Linked DNA regions of Homo sapiens: region 1 is linked to region 2. The links are contacts of gene promoters, found by promoter capture Hi-C in blood cells and fetal thymus (Javierre and others, 2016). All regions are on one chromosome and are shown on one strand. Each heading gives the region's core, a stretch centred on a gene start or on the middle of the fragment in contact. The rest is flanking DNA. Distances are from core to core; before and after follow the strand shown. Region 1 overlaps LOC105375751 (a long non-coding RNA gene). Region 2 holds the start of POU5F1B (POU class 5 homeobox 1B).

The links. The method cuts DNA at HindIII sites, captures the fragments that hold promoters and counts their contacts. A CHiCAGO score of 5 or more calls a contact.
Region 1: a fragment that was not itself captured here is called in contact with the fragment with the promoter of POU5F1B in region 2 in 1 of 17 cell types (M1 macrophages); the score reaches 6.8 in M1 macrophages.

Annotation. Positions count from the first base shown.
Region 1 is chr8:126,872,484-126,877,345 of GRCh38, reverse strand. The region is part of intron 3 of LOC105375751 (a long non-coding RNA gene); the gene reads right to left. Among named protein-coding and RNA genes, the nearest start is that of PCAT1, 140 kb to the left of the region's middle. The HindIII fragment of the contact is 2,694 bases long and covers 138-2,831 here.
Region 2 is chr8:127,412,737-127,417,534 of GRCh38, reverse strand. It overlaps POU5F1B (POU class 5 homeobox 1B), which reads right to left and starts at 1,668. Exons shown (of 1, transcript NM_001159542.3): 1 at 589-1,668. The coding sequence starts at 1,668. The coding sequence ends at 589. The region is part of intron 5 of CASC8 (cancer susceptibility 8); the gene reads left to right. The HindIII fragment of the contact is 3,513 bases long and covers 1,561-4,798 here.

The DNA.
Region 1 (4,862 bases), core at 235-2,734, 540 kb after region 2:
GCTGGGTGTGCCTCTAGTTGTTCTAGAGAAATGAACGCTTAGAACTACAGTTCCTCTCACAAGAGGTGAGACGGCTTTGCAATTGAAAGAGAGCAACCAACCTGGAGCAATTATGTTTTCATTATTATTCCCAAGCTTCTCTGTCACAAATCACATTTTCCAACCCGGGGCACGTTGGTGCAGAGCTGCCGATTGCAGTTCCCATCATTCCACCAGCTGACTGCTCCAGCCTGGCCCTGGAAGCGGCAAGCCGGTGGCTCATTAACTGCAATACCTGTGCACAGATTGCAAACCCGGCAGAGCAGATGCTGCATACTTCAGGAAATTCTCCCCTATTTGAAAATGACTACGAAGTACTTTTTACTATCAAACCCTTGTTGGGATTTTTCTAGAAAGAAGACCGTGAAGCCCTTGTAGATTTTCCTGTCGACTTGCATTACAGAGCAGCTGAGAGTGCTAAGTCTGGGCATGGCCTTGACTTGCAGGCACAAACACAAACACACCCCGGCGCCCCTGGCTTTAAAACTGGGGATTTAAAGCGCTAGACTTGAGAGCGCAGAAGTACGGCAATGCTCATGCCGCCATCATGTGGCTAGAGGAGGAACCGCACCAGGAACAGAATGGACCAATTCGGCCAGGCTGCCTGCACCCCCTCCTTCCTACTTTCCTCCCTCCCTTCCTTTGAAACAGCTGCTGAAGAAGACTAGTCAATTAAAAAAAAAAGAAAGAAAGAAAGAAAAGAAAGGTGGAAGAGAAATAATTGAGTTAGGTACCACTGTTTGCACACCCCGTTCCTGGGGCTTTATAAAAGCCCTGCGTGGTAAGGCAAATAGCCGTCAAATGAATTTGAGTGGGAATTCAAAGCACTCTTGATTTCTCTTGGTTAATATACGTTAGCTGAATTCAGTGTCGAAATTGAGCAGCTCATATTTAAAAGGAGATGATTCCCGCAGAACTTTATGGACTTTACATATAGAGGACACAGAACAAATTAAACTTTTGCTTATTGCTTTGAACAAAAATTAGTGTTTTATAAAAAGAGAGGGAGGGAGACTTAAAACTATGCCCTCATTCATTATTCTGTTCGGTTGTCTATCTTTTAGTTCTTAATTTGTAGAAACTCCTTGCATCCTGGGGATAATATCCTCTTGTGCATCATATGAGTTGCAAATACTTTCTAATAATTACCTGGCTTATTTCTTTATGGGATCTCTTTCCAATTTTAAAAATTATTAATTTTTTAATGTAACTGAAGCTGCTAATAGTTTGTCTTTTATAGCTTCTGTGTTTTCTATCTTGCTTAGAAAGCTGCCTCCACCTCAAAGTATAGTCTTTAATACTATTTTTAATAATGATTTTATGTTTATGTTTAGTTCATATGGATTTATTTTTATACTCCATTTAAGCTAGCTTTTCACCCAAATGTGGAATCAATTGTCTCTGTACCATTAAGAAAATAACAATCTGTCATTTCCCCACTGAAGTGGCACATTTATTATCGAGTAAGTGCCTATATGTAGCGGGATCCTATCTGTTCTGCCAACATACCGTATTTATACTCACTACCACACTGTTTTAATCTGGTAGGATAAGCCCCTACCCGCTTCCTATTTTTCTTTTATAAAATATTCTTAGCCATTCTCGAACATTGGTTCCTCCATCATATGGGTATGCGTGGTCTGATTTGTTATAACAACCTTGCATTATTTTTGTTAATAAAAGGTCTTCAGTTGTTTTTTTGTTTTTGTTTTTGTTTTGAGACGGAGTCTCGCTCTGTCGCCCAGGCTGGAGTGCAGTGGCACGATCTCGGCTCACTGCAAGCTCCGCCTCCCGAGTTCATGCCACTCTCCTGCTTCAGTCTCCCGAGTAGCTGGGACTACAGGCACCTGCCACTGCCCCCAGCTGTTTTTGTATTTTTAGCAGAGACGGGTTTCACCGTAGTCTCGATCTCCTGACCTCGTGATCCACCCGCCTGGGTCTCCCAAAGTGCTGGGATTACAGGCGTGAGCCACCGCCCCCGGCCCAGTTCTATATCTTCTGCAGAGCTTACATTGTTTCTCTGGAGACTTGGTGAAGGACAGACACCTCACATCCCCGTTCCTGCTGTGGGAAAGGCTAAGCGTTCTCTCTCAACCTGCTAGAGGGACTCTGATTGGTTCATACAGAGTCTTAGAGAGTTGAAACACGGCTGCCAGACGTCCACCCCTATTAATGAGCAGTTAATTGGAGGTGGTTGTGAGATAAGCAGAGATCCCAAAAGGTGTTTACTATGTTCCTTAATTTGAAATTTATTCAAAAATCACGAGCTGATGGCTCTTTATATACTAAGGCCTCGGACCAGGGAATCAAAAGTAAATCAGATACAGGCCTTGCATTCAGAGAGCTCATGAACTAGAAGTGCTATGCATGTGTGAAAACAAAATTAGCACCCTTCCAGGCAAAGAAAGTAGACTGGAAATGTACACAGTACTGTAGCAGCCTCCAGAGAGGGGCAGTGAAGCCGGGTGAGGCAAGGATGTCATTAAGGAGTGAGGACTGTGTGAGGGCCATGTAGCAAACCATCCCTTCCTCCACAGGGGAATCAGCCTCATTTCAGTGGTAGAAAGGAGTGCGATTGTTCTGTTGTGTGCATATGTGTTTGTATGTGTGTATGTGCACATGTGTGCGAGTTGACCTGGTTCTCCTGAGCAGGAATCTAGCCAAAGGGTGCAGAGGCTGCAGACTTAGGTAGCAGGGAGGGATGAAAGGCTCAGGGAGGAAGCGGCTCAGATATATCTTGTTCTTCTTCCCTGACCTCAAGCTATAAAACAGGCAAACACTTCAGGCAAGCTTTCCGAAAAGACAAAGTTCTCACTGTCCCAGGAAACGAGAGCTTAGACCCTGAATAAAGACTCCACTTCATACCGTACCACCTTCTCCCACCTCTCTCAACACACAAATGCTGTTTGTTTAAAAGTTTATCTCAACTGGAGGCTTTAAGGAAGGGCCCCTGGACATGGCCTTAGATCCTGTGTTATGCTTCAGCTGTTTTTTTAATGTTTGTCTGTTCACACAGATGAAGTCACGAAGATCACAATCTAAGGCAAAATGATATTTTCTGCAGTCATTATTGTTCTTGGAAACAGAAGAGCCGAGTGTGAGAGAATGTGAGGGCTGGAAGGGACCAAGGCAGCCTCCAGTGCCCCACTGGGCTTAATCCCCAAGGGAAATGAGGCCAGGAGCGGTGACATGACTTGTCCCAGTTCACGCAGCTAGTTCCTTCTGCACAGATGTATCTAAAGGACACTTCTCTAGGGGTGCTTCACCGTCACATCATTGTGCAATTAAATGGGGGGACCTCCTTTTAATAGAATACATTATTTCTCTTCTTCCAAACATAAGGGTCAGGGTTTTGTACAATTTGTATGTGAAAGTGTGCAATATAAAATTCCATTTAGGAGAGTGGAATGCTTCCAAAGGACAAACGATAAATGAGATGGGCTCTTCCACCCCCAGGTCCCACCAAAAAAGGCTTCAAACAAGGGAAGGTTAATTAGGTAGGGAACTTCTCCACAAAGACAGATTTTCCCTAAATACCGCTGTCCACCTGCTTACTCCTCTCCATAGAGGGCCTTCGAGGTCATCTCACTGTAAAGTTTAGGATGAAGATAAGCATTCTACAGTGCTCCTCTTTATAGGCCATAATGGCTTGCAGAGAGCACCTGTGTTCTCTACCAGTAGGTAAAGGTCCTACCTCAAGGAGAAAGATATTTATCGTGGTTTTGTCTTGTTTTGATTTTTTCAGCCCTTTCAGTGACTGGGCAGAAAAGCCAGACTAATTCTGGGGACTCTTGGAAAGCCCACTGTAGTTTTGCTTTGTAGTGTTTGTCAGTAATAGAGCTGGCATTCTATCCTCCAACTATCAGCCCCGTTGCATCTCTTGGTCGATTCAGAGCTCTGGCATGGAAAGAGGTGAAGGGGTGTGTCGTGTTCACTCTTAAACCCTTTTCACCGTAGAATGCCAGTATGCATTAGCAGTAGCTAATTTAAAGACTGAGTTGCTTCCGCACTGCTTCTGCATATGTTGCCAAGTTGATCTAACAATTTTATGTGAAATGTAAAGTTTTTTCTTTATCATAATTACGTTTCACAACTCAATGCTTTTTTCCTATACTTTGTGTTTTGGACAGAAGCAGGGCAGAATATATGACTGAAGTGAACTCCACTCGACCTTCAAATCCAACCCCTCCGAAGAGAATATTCCAAGAATCAAGCAAAACCTGGGAGGTCAAGGATGTTTCATCTGCGTTTCCCCATTCTCTTAGATTGTCTCTTCTTTCCTCAAGTCTCATAGAATCTGAGAGTTAGAAGGTTCTCAAAGGTCATCTCAAGCACAATGCTTTGTGAAATTTGAAGTCCAGCTACAATATGCCCAATAAGCATTTATCCAGACTCAAGAGTCCCCATTGCTGGAGAATTGGAATTTAATAATACCAAACATAGCCCAATCCATTTTGGAACAAATCTACTTGTGAGGAAGTTATTTTATTGTTGTTTGTTTTACAGCATGCTGTAGGTGGTCTCTTTGAATTCCATCTAAATACAACTTTTTGTAGTACAGTACTGCAAATCATCTATTCTAAAGATGCATATGTGTTTACACTGTATCTGTGAACATTCATAACAATTGAAGACACTTCTGATTGTGCTTGGCTGGGCAGCAGACACGACGTTGTTGCTTATGCATGTGTGAGACAGGCTGTTTCAGGTAGTGTGATAAAAATTCTCTCAATATTTCAGTCAAACTATTTAAGAGTCTTTGGAATAAGGAATATAAGCCTTCTATGTCTTAAAAAAAATTTATGGAGATTTTTTGAAAATCA
Region 2 (4,798 bases), core at 419-2,918:
AATAAATAAGTAAATAAATAAAATTTTAAAAAATTAAATTAAAAAATGAATTATCTGTATCATGGGGAATGGTTAATGCTCACATTTTTGTGGAATATGTGAGGGAATGGTGAGGGCCGAACTATGCCGTTAGCGGTCAAAAGAGGTTTTGTATCAGGACAAATAGGATGTCTTGAAGAAAAACTACAGCTACCATCAAGTAGCACTCTAGGAAAAGGTAAAAAGGAGGAAAAAAGCAAGTATTTATTGAATACCTACTACGTGCCACACATTTTACCACACTTAAAAAATTATTACTCAATTATGTTACTTTTCTTTTCTTTCTTTTTTTTTTTTTTTTACTGTGTCCCAGGCTTCTTTATTTAAGAAAAAAGTGATACATGATGTGGGATTAAAATCAAGAGCATCATTGAACTTCACCTTCCCTCCAACCAGTTGCCCCAAACTCCCCTGCCCCCACCCTTAGTGTTCCCAATTCCTTCCTTAGTGAATGAAGAACTTAATCCCAAAAGCCCTGCCACAAACTCCAGGTTCTCTTTCCCTAGCTCCTCCCCTCCCCTGTTCCCCATTCCTAGAAGGGCAGGCACCTCAGTTTGAATGCATGGGAGAGCCCAGAGTGATGACGGAGACTGGGGGAAAGACTTCCCCCTCAGGGAAAGGGACTGAGGAGTACAGTGCAGTGAAGTGAGGGCTCCCATAGCCTGGGGTACCAAAATGGGGCCCTGGGGCCGGAGGAAAGGACACTGGTCCCCCTGAGAAAGGAGACCCAGCAGCCTCAAAATCCTCTCGTTGTGCATAGTCGCTGCTTGATCGCTTGCCCTTCTGGCGCCGGTTACAGAACCACACTCGGACCACATCCTTCTCGAGCCCAAGCTGCTGGGCGATGTGGCTGATCTGCAGTGTGGGTTTCGGGCACTGCAGGAACAAATTCTCCAGGTTGCCTCTCACTCGGTTCTCGATACTGGTTCGCTTTCTCTTTCGGGCCTGCATGAGGGTTTCTGCTTTGCATATCTCCTGAAGATTTTCATTGTTGTCAGCTTCCTCCACCCACTTCTGCAGCAAGGGCCGCAGCTTACACATGTTCTTGAAGCTAAGCTGCAGAGCCTCAAAGCGGCAGATGGTCTTTTGGCTGAACACCTTCCCAAATAGAACCCCCAGGATGAGCCCCACATCGGCCTGTGTATATCCCAGGGTGATCCTCTTCTGCTTCAGGAGCTTGGCAAATTGCTCGAGTTCTTTCTGCAGAGCTTTGATGTCCTGGGACTTCTCCGGGTTTTGCTCTAGCTTCTCCTTCTCCAGCTTCACGGCACCAGGGGGGACGGTGCAGGGTTCCGGGGAGGCCCCATTGGAGTTGCTCTCCACCCCGACTCCTGCTTCGCTCTCAGGCTGAGAGGTCTCCAAGCCGCCTTGGGGCACTAGCCCCACTCCAACCTGAGGCCCACAGTACGCCATCCCCCCACATAACTCATACGGCGGGGGGCAAGGGGGAATCCCCCACACCTCAGAGCCTGGCCCAACCCCCGGCCCGATTCCTGGCCCTCCAGGAGGGCCTTGGAAGCTTAGCCAGGTCAGAGGATCAACCCAGCCCGGCTCCGCCCCCCATGGCCCATCACCCCCACCGCCTGGAGGGGGCGAGAAGGCGAAATCCGAAGCCAGGTGTCCCGCCATGGGGAAGGAAGGCGCCCCAAGCCGGGGGCCTGGTGAAATGAGCAATTATGTTACTTTTCATTGAAAGCTCTGTGACCGTATGGCTGTGTGTGTCATACGCTCACTAGCAATGAACACAGTGCCTGAAGCATCATTAAATGTTGACTGAATGTGTTAGGAACTCTTCAAAAGTAATCTCTTTAAATCATAATCACCTGTGAATTGACAATTATTATCTTCACTTTGTGGATAAGAATGCCAAGATTTGGAAATGTTGAATAATGTGTCCATTGTGTCAGTGGCCGATCTGAAATTCCAGTGTAGGCACCATGATTCCTGAGTCCATTCTGCTTCTGCCATACCATGATGCTAGATTCTTCATGGGAGCCATCTACTTGTGTTCTGTGCTATGGAATGGTGTGTCCTTCTTTCTGATTCTTATTTCCTGCAGATTGTGGGGAAACGGTTCTACCATTAACAACCAAAGGCAAAATGGGCTGCAACCAAAGAAATTCCCTGACCTAATTCTTTATAGTTGGTGACAAGTGTGCTGTAGTGACGGGAAATAGCACTCTATGAAGATTTAATAGTGCAAATTCTACCCTCCTGACAACCCCTTTCTTCAGCACTGGATGGGTGTATTAGTTGTTTATCATTGTGTAATAGATCACCTCAAAACTTAATAGCTTAAAAACAACTAACACATAGCTCACAGTTTTGTAAAATAGCAATTGTGGTGTGGCTTAACTGGGTATCCTGGATAAGGGTATTTCATGAGGTTGTGGTCAAGATGAGAGCAGGGGATGTTGTCATCTGGGAGCCTAACGGGGGCTGGAGGATCCACTTTCCAAAATGTCTCACTTACTTGGCTGTTGGCAAAGGCCCCGGTTTCTTGTTGGCTGTTGGTAGGAGGCCTCAGTTGCTCACCATGTGGGCTTTTCCATAAAGCTGCTTGAGTGTCCTCACAACATGTCAGCTGGATTCACCCAGAGAGAATGACCTAAGAAAGAGAGAGCAGGGAAGAAGCCACTGCGTTCTTTATGACCTAGTCTCTGAAATCGCACACTTTTACTTGTGCCATATTTTATTCATTAGAAGTGAGTCACATTCTGTAGGAGGGTAATTAGCCTTCACCATTTGGCAGGAGGACTATCAAATAATTGGTGGGCATATTGTAAAGCTATCATAATGGTTCTGGTAGGCCATGTTTTTGCCTCTGCCACTCAAATATTGGATGTCCATTTCTTAAAGGGATTGTGAAAAGAGAAGGGGCTTTAGAATAAGACAGGCAAATGTTTAAACATTGAGTAAATTTTTAATGTCCTTAACCCTTGTTTCTCAACCATAAAATGAGAATGATCATATCAAATCTTCACAGTTTTGCAGGATGGGTTGCAGGTAATAAAGTCCTAGTGCAATGTCTGGCACAAGGTAAGTGTTTAAGCAGTGGGCTCCTTTCTGTTACATAATGTGGCAACCCTCTTCTCCCCTCTCTACCTCTCAAATATGTGTCTGAGTCAGAACACCAAAGTCACACACACACAGGTACAAAACAATTCCTGATTCTATTCCATTTCCATCATGCCATGCTGCCAGTTTCTCCATGGGGCCATCTTTACTTCTGTAGTAAGGAATATAGTTACTTGTTACAGAAATTAGATTCCAGAATTGGGATATGAGTTGGAAAGGGAACTTAAACGTTCTCCTTCAGTCTTGCTCAAATTCTCATGCTTATTTGACGTTCTTGAGTGTTTCCAATAAGATAGATATGACTTTACCTCTAGATTCTCCCACTTGTTATCCTGCCAACCTTAAGTCCCCTTTCTCAGGGTAATAACTTTCTGCTCAATTCTGTTGTGAGGTTTAAGTCAAGTAAGATGTGTGTAATTTTCTCATGAAACAGTAGCTATTATTTATTGTTTATCATTTTATCATTAACTTCTGTTCCTTTAGACCTGACTAAAATATTTCTAGTGTCATTTGAAAATATTGTATTATATCGGGTGTTGTGTGTGTGTGTGTGTGTGTGTACCACCTTTTTTTAAGAAGCACAAAATGTGTTTGACCAGTTACTTAGATTATTTATTTCTCACAAAATGAAGTCAAGTCCATATTGTCTCATTTAGCAGAAAAGTGAAATAGAAGGTTAATAGGTTGGCCTAAGCCTCACAGCTGGTAAGTATAGCTACCTAGATTTGAACCATGAAAATCGTTTGAGGTGATGCTCTGCTTTATTTAATCTGTTCAGACAATGGCATTGTGGTTTCATGGGGAGACAGGCTAGATTTTGTGACCTGAACGTCTACTCGTTTGACTATGTAGTACAACTAAAAATTGTGAATCCGCTAACTAAGTCTTTGTGTTTAATTTAGTTTAGTGCAATAATAATTTCTAGGGATATCACAGGCCAGGCACTGGGATAGATAATGAGGTACAGCTAGGTGAAGGGGGCAGGATGGAAATGCTGAGGTACAGAAGGGTCATAAAGCCCATTGTAATGTTCCATTTTTGTCTCTAGATAATGACAAGCAGACAGTAACACACTGGTAGCAAACATTGAAGACTGGTGGCCCAGGGGCTCTGATGTTGATGAAATTCCTGATGAAATTGAGTTTGGTAATTATACAGTTGACCTGCTTGAAAGAAAGATATCACAGTAGAACAATTTCCTTGGTTCTGCCATTTCATTTATCACCATTGTTTGTCTTTGTTGTCAGTATTAACATCAATTATTAATCTTAATGCTCATTTTCCTTCCTAGCCTTCTTTCCTGTCTGACATGTGGAATCTCTTGCTATTAAATTGAGAGGCAGGTGGAAACATTAGTCCTTCTTACGTCATTGGTCATTATTTCTTCTGAACGAAGAGTTTTTTTCAGTGGGGGCAGGACAATTGGAAAAATCCATTCCAAGTGGCATAAAGACTGGTTTCTTTGCTCTGTACAAAGTATCCCAGTATCACTTAAGTAGCTATTTCTCTGAGGTTGGACCTCAACTAGAACCATGATGGTTGGATGCAGAGAAACTGGCAAATAGGTTAAATTGAAAGCAGGTAGAAATCACAACACTTGGGATGGCAAAAACAGCTAGCTGCCTCCCAAGATCTGCTCTCCCTTTCTGTCTTAGTAACCTAACCTCATTTTATATAAGAT